Linked DNA regions of Homo sapiens: region 1 is linked to region 2. Evidence: promoter capture Hi-C in 16 types of primary human blood cells and fetal thymus (Javierre and others, 2016). All regions are on one chromosome and are shown on one strand. The core of a region is centred on a gene start or on the middle of the fragment in contact, and the rest is flanking DNA. Distances in the headings are between cores, read along the strand shown.

Region 1 (2,724 bases), core at 7-2,506, 120 kb before region 2:
CTTTGGCAACCATGCAGGCGTGGTTGGAAAGCACTTCAGTAGGATTCAAGCTCTTTCTTTTCCTGTTTCAGGTGGAACCAAAGGAGGAGGAGCCAAACCTTCCATTGGTTTCTGAAGAAGAAAAGAGCATAACCAAACCAAAAGAAATCAACGAAAAGAAGCTGGGAATGGACAGTGCAGGTTAGCATATCTTCACCCTCACCCAGAAACATGTATGACAGACTTCATTGCACAGTGCTATGTTGATAGGAGCTATACCCAAGAACTACCCAAGACTGCTGCCCTTGGTCTTCAGAGAGCTTTCAATTTTATATGCAGAAAATGTTGTCCAGGCTTCTCCATCTAAACTGCCAAAGTAATACAATTGCCACTTGTGTGGGGTTCAGGTAAAGGATCATACCTGGATTCTTATTTTATGTAAATGAATTTCCAACAAGAGAGGTGTTTTGTTTGTGAATTTGTTTCATCCTCTCCGAGGCTAACGTACATGCTGAGTTCCTCAGTGAGCCCAGATATGAGAGGACAACCACTGATTTCCCCTTCAGCATTCTTCCTCAGCAGCAGAACCAGAAAGGAATAATAGAATTGGCCAAAAAATCATTTTTTTAAAGTTGCCTTTCTCTTCCTGTAGAGAGAAAATGTCTGTGTTAATAATGATACTATTGCCCACATCCTTGGACAAAGAGGGTTTATGCAGCTGCAGACAGATGTCCTTGGCAGCCAACACCTATCAAATCCCCAAACAACAAATATCACCAGAGTGAAAATCTCTCTGTGTGTTTATGTGGGTGCATATGTGGATGTTGGCTCCAGTTGATGGCAAGCTGATTTCTAGCAGTATTTGATAAAAAAATTCCAGTTCCTCAAATTAAGTTGAATAGTTATGTTACGTTTTTGCCACAAAGGATTTCACATGTGGGTCCAAAGACAGGACATTCCTAAACACGTTTTCCCATGAATACTAAGAAAACCACAAAACCCTCCAGAAAAAAAAAGAAAAAGGAAGATTAAATGAGTACTCTTTTGTCTTTTTGAGCTTTATTTTTATTTATTTATTTATTTATTTATTTATTTATTTATTTATTTAAGACGGAGTCTCACTCTGTCACCCAGGCTGGAGTGCAGTGGCATGATCTCGGCTCACTGCAACCTCCACCTCCCTAGTTCAAGCAATTCTCCTGCCTCAGCCTCCCTAGTAGCTGGGACTACAGGCGCCCGCCGCCACGCTTGGCTAATTTTTTGTATTTTTAGTAGAGAGGGAGTTTCACCGTGTTAGCCAGGATGATCTCAATCTCCTGACCTTGTGATCTGCCCACCTTGGCCTCCCAAAGTGCTGGGATTGCAGGCGTGAGCCACTGCACCCAGCCTTTGAGCTTTATTTTTTAATAGTTGTCTCTTTTACACACAGAGGATAGAACTGAGTCAGTATCCATGGTGGCAGATACTTTAGTTGATTTTCCATATCATGGAAGTGGTTTGGAGCATAGTCAGCTATTATCAGCGCTGTATGCTGGATATGAAACTACTGGATGGAGCTAAGGATGCAGCAGATAGTGAGGGAAGAAAGGCACAAGGGGCCCTTCCATCTGGGGATCAAAGTGAGTTCCTTAGAACTAGAAGAAAGGAGAGGAGTAATCTGTACAACTACTACCTTGTGCTTGACCTGAAGCCTGTGGACCAATGCAATTCTTAAGGCATTCCAAGAATTTCTTTGCATGTGTATTACATATGATCGGTTTAAAAAAATGTTTTTATTTCAATAGCTTTAGGGGTACAAGTGGTTTTTGGTTACACAGATGGATTGTATAGTGGTGAAGTCTAGGATTTTAGTGCACCTGTCATTAGAGTAATGTACATTGTACCCATTATGTAGTTTTTCATTCCTCACCCCCTCCTACCCTTCCCACTTTCTGAGTCTTCAGTGTCTAATATACCACTCTGTATGCCTTTGCATACCCATAGCTTAGCTCCCATTTATAAGGGAGAACATGTGGTATTTGGTTTTCGATTCCTGGGTTACTTCACTTAGAATATTGGCCTCCAGTTTCATCCAGGTTGCTACAAAAGACATTATTTCATTCTTTGTTATGCCTGAGTAGTATCACATTTTCTTTAGTTGATTTTCCATATCATGAAAGTGGTTTGGAGCACAGTCAGCTATTCTCAGCGCCGTATGCTGGGTATGAAACCCCTAGATGGAGCTAGGGATGCAGCAGATAGTGAGGGAAGAAAGGCAGCGAGGGACCCTTCCATCTGGGGATCAAAGTGAGTTCCTTAGAAAAGTACTAGAAGAAAGGAGAGGAGTAATCTGTACAACTACTAGCATGTGCTTGACATTTTCTTTATCTACTCATAGGTTGATGGGCACTTAGGTTGATTCCATATCCTTGCAATTGTGAATTGTGCTTCAATAAACATATGTGTGCAGGTGTCTTTTTGATATAATGACTTCTTTTCCTTTGGGTAGATACTCAGTAGTGGGATTGCTGGATTGAATCATAGATCTATTTTTAGTTCTTTGGGAAATTTCCATACTGTTTTCCACAGAGGTTGCACTAATTTACATTCCCAGCAGCGGTGTATAAGTATGCTCTTTTTATCACATTCATCCCAACATCTATTGTTTTTTGACTTTGTAATAATGGCCATTCTGGCTGAGGTAAGATGATATCGCGTTGTGTTTCAATTTGCATTTCCCTCGTGATTAGTGACATTGAGCATTTT
Region 2 (2,700 bases), core at 149-2,648:
AGGAGACCAGGAGTGCAGCGGGAGAAGGAGAGTCAGAGGAACAGAGACAGTGACACCGAAAAAGAAAGAAACAGTGACAAAGATACGAAGAGACGGAGAAAAAGAACCAGAAGCAAGGAGACACAGACAGGAACGGGGACTGAGAGACAGGAACACAAAAGCTAACAGAAGTAGCAGGAAAAGACAAAAAGCAACCGAGATCAACACAAACACAGTGAAACACAGATAAGCAGTGAAAACAGAACAAACTCAGAGACCCAGCCCCAGAATCACCCCTCCCCCACCCCGCCACAGTCCATGGGTCCCCCGCCCCCTCTTCTGCCCTGGTCCAAATCCCTTCTCGCTGCGGGGTTTGTTCTCCCGCTCCCTCATGTAGCCACCGAGCCCCAGCCCCGGCCCGGCAGCGCGTTGGACTCACCCAACTTAACTGCCTCGTTGTACTTGAGCAGTGCCGCCTCCACCTGGCGCTCGCGGTACAGTCGGTTGCCCTCGTGCCGGAGTTGCGACGCTCGCGCTGGGCCTGGAAACAACTTGCCGAGGAGGCCGCTGAGCACCACGTTGACTCGCAGCGGCGGCGGCGGCTGCTGCCCAGCCCGCCGGGCTCCACGCGCCCGCCCAGTGGCCACCATCAAGGCGGAGAGCTTGACCCCGCACAGCGCACAGCGCCGGTCGGCGGCCCGCCCACGTTCCAGGCACAGTTTACAAAAGGTGTGGCCACACGACAAGGACACGGGGTCTGATAGAAACCCATGACATTTCCGGCACTTAAAGCCGTCCCACACCTCGGTGGCCGCCGCAGCCGCGGCGGCCCCCGTCTCTTCCGCCGCCACGGTGCCGCTTGCAGTGCTACCCTCGTCCGGGGGCGCCGGCGCCAGCGCCTCGCCTTGCGGGACTTTCTCCGCCAGGCAGCGCACCAGCTGCTCCAGCTGCTCAGCCACCAGCTGCTGCCGCTCGGAGAGCTGTCTATACACCTCGAGGGCTTCACGGATTCGCCCCCGGGACGCCAAGGCGTCTGCCTGCGTGAGCAGGACTTTGCTCTCCGGCGTTGAGGTCCCCGGAGACTGCTCTTGCTCTGGCTCCCGCGTCGGTAGAGGTGCGGGGCCCTCTGCAGCCACCTTTGGGTGGGGGCCCATGTCTACTTGGGCCGCTGATGCCCCTCGCTCCGCCGACTCCAAGTTGTCGCTGCTGACCTCAGCGGGCAAGCTCAGCATCTGTTCGATCCGTACTGACTCCATGGGAAGAGGGACACGGGAGGAGACGAGGCGTCTAGGGACCGGGGACACGAAGCAAGGAGTGGCAGCTGGAGGAAATCGGGGCAGCCACCGCCGCCATGCCACCGAGCTCCTGACCCTGCCGCGCCTCCGGGAGCTCCATGCCGGCCGCCCCGCGCCGCCTAATAACTGTCTTGTCTCAGCAAAGTGTTATATAAAACGGTACCACGTGACGTGCCGCCACGCTGTTCATTGGCCGGCGGCGGGGAAATTGTTACAAAACCAGACAGTTTTGTAACAGTGTTGCTCTTGCTTCTTTGGGCTTCGCTTTTCTTGGCTTCTTTTTGAGGTTGTTTGTGTTTACACTTCGCCTTATTCCTCCTCACCACCTGGTTCTTTTTCGGAAGTGGGGTTGTGGGGTGGGGAGAAACTCAGTGTCTTCTCTTGGGCTTCTCAGTCTCCAAACCCCACTCCATCCCACCTCCAAACGGGCCAGCAAACAGGTCCCCTCTGCCAGCCGCTGACCAGCGGCCCCCCACTCCTCCCAGGAGAGGCTGGTACCTCGAGGTGCACAGTCCGCAGGGTCTTCCGGGACGCCTAAGACTCTCCCTCTTGGGGGAGATGGCTGCTGTCAGGGAAAGGAAGCAGGTTGGGAGGGGTATCCGTGAAGCCCCCCCACACACACACAACCCAGTCCCAGCCCGAGAGCCCTGGGAGCCCCGCCTGGGTTCCTTGCCTTCTCCCAGGAGCCTCCCAAAGGTGGTGAATTCGGTTTCTGAGGGTGCTTGGTGTTCTGTGCCAAGAGTGACTCAGAGCAGCGGGTCCCACCGGCGCAGAAGTTGGGCAGCGCTCGCTGGACAGTGAGGAACTCGCGGAGAAGATGCGCTTGCCGGCTCAGCCCTGGGAGGGAGATGCCCCGCTAACTCCCCTCTTTACCTCTCTACCCCCAACGCCAGAACTAGCGCTGGGGCAGGCGGTAGGCGCCCAGCTGGAGACACACCAGGCCGGCCCCTGGAGCCACTGGCCGGATGGGCGCGGCAGGGATGTACCCGGCCTGCTGGGGTCGGTGGGTACTCTGGGGGCGTGGGAGAGTGGCAGGGGGAAGACGCGAGCTGAGAGCGCTATTCAGGAGAAAGTCCGCGAATCCCGGCACAGCCCAGTGGCAGACCGAATAGCCTCCAGGTTTGTCGCTCCTGAGCGCTGCGCGGGAAGGGTACAACTGGGCACGAGCCTCAGCGCCTGGTTTACAATGGCTAGGGGGCCTCGACGGTGTCCTACACACTTCCTGAAGGCGAGCGGGGTGGCCAACTGCACACTCTTTGTCTGCCTTGAACCCCCACATTTAGGACGGGAACCAAGCTCACAAATGAGCAGACAGAAAACGGTATAGTCGCACTGCTCCAAGCAGGGAGGCAGGGACTAGGCTTGCCGCTGGCTCAGTTGGCCTTCAGAGCCTGCGGGCTCTTGGGCAGTGCCAGGTTGCCGCCCC

The links. Contacts are between HindIII fragments. The CHiCAGO score rates a contact against its expected background, and 5 or more counts as called.
Region 1: a contact is called between a fragment that was not itself captured here and the fragment with the promoter of LONRF3 in region 2, in 5 of 17 cell types (total B cells, monocytes, M0 macrophages and 2 more). The highest score is 9.2, in total B cells.

What each region holds. Positions count from the first base shown.
Region 1 is chrX:119,091,123-119,093,846 of GRCh38, reverse strand. KIAA1210 reads left to right here. Exons shown (of 12, transcript NM_001394962.1): 8 at 72-180. Among named protein-coding and RNA genes, the nearest start is that of CT47C1, 19 kb to the right of the region's middle. The HindIII fragment of the contact is 6,964 bases long and covers 1-2,724 here.
Region 2 is chrX:118,973,316-118,976,015 of GRCh38, reverse strand. It overlaps LONRF3 (LON peptidase N-terminal domain and ring finger 3), which reads right to left and starts at 1,398. Exons shown (of 11, transcript NM_001031855.3): 1 at 419-1,398. The coding sequence starts at 1,235. The HindIII fragment of the contact is 6,269 bases long and covers 1-2,700 here.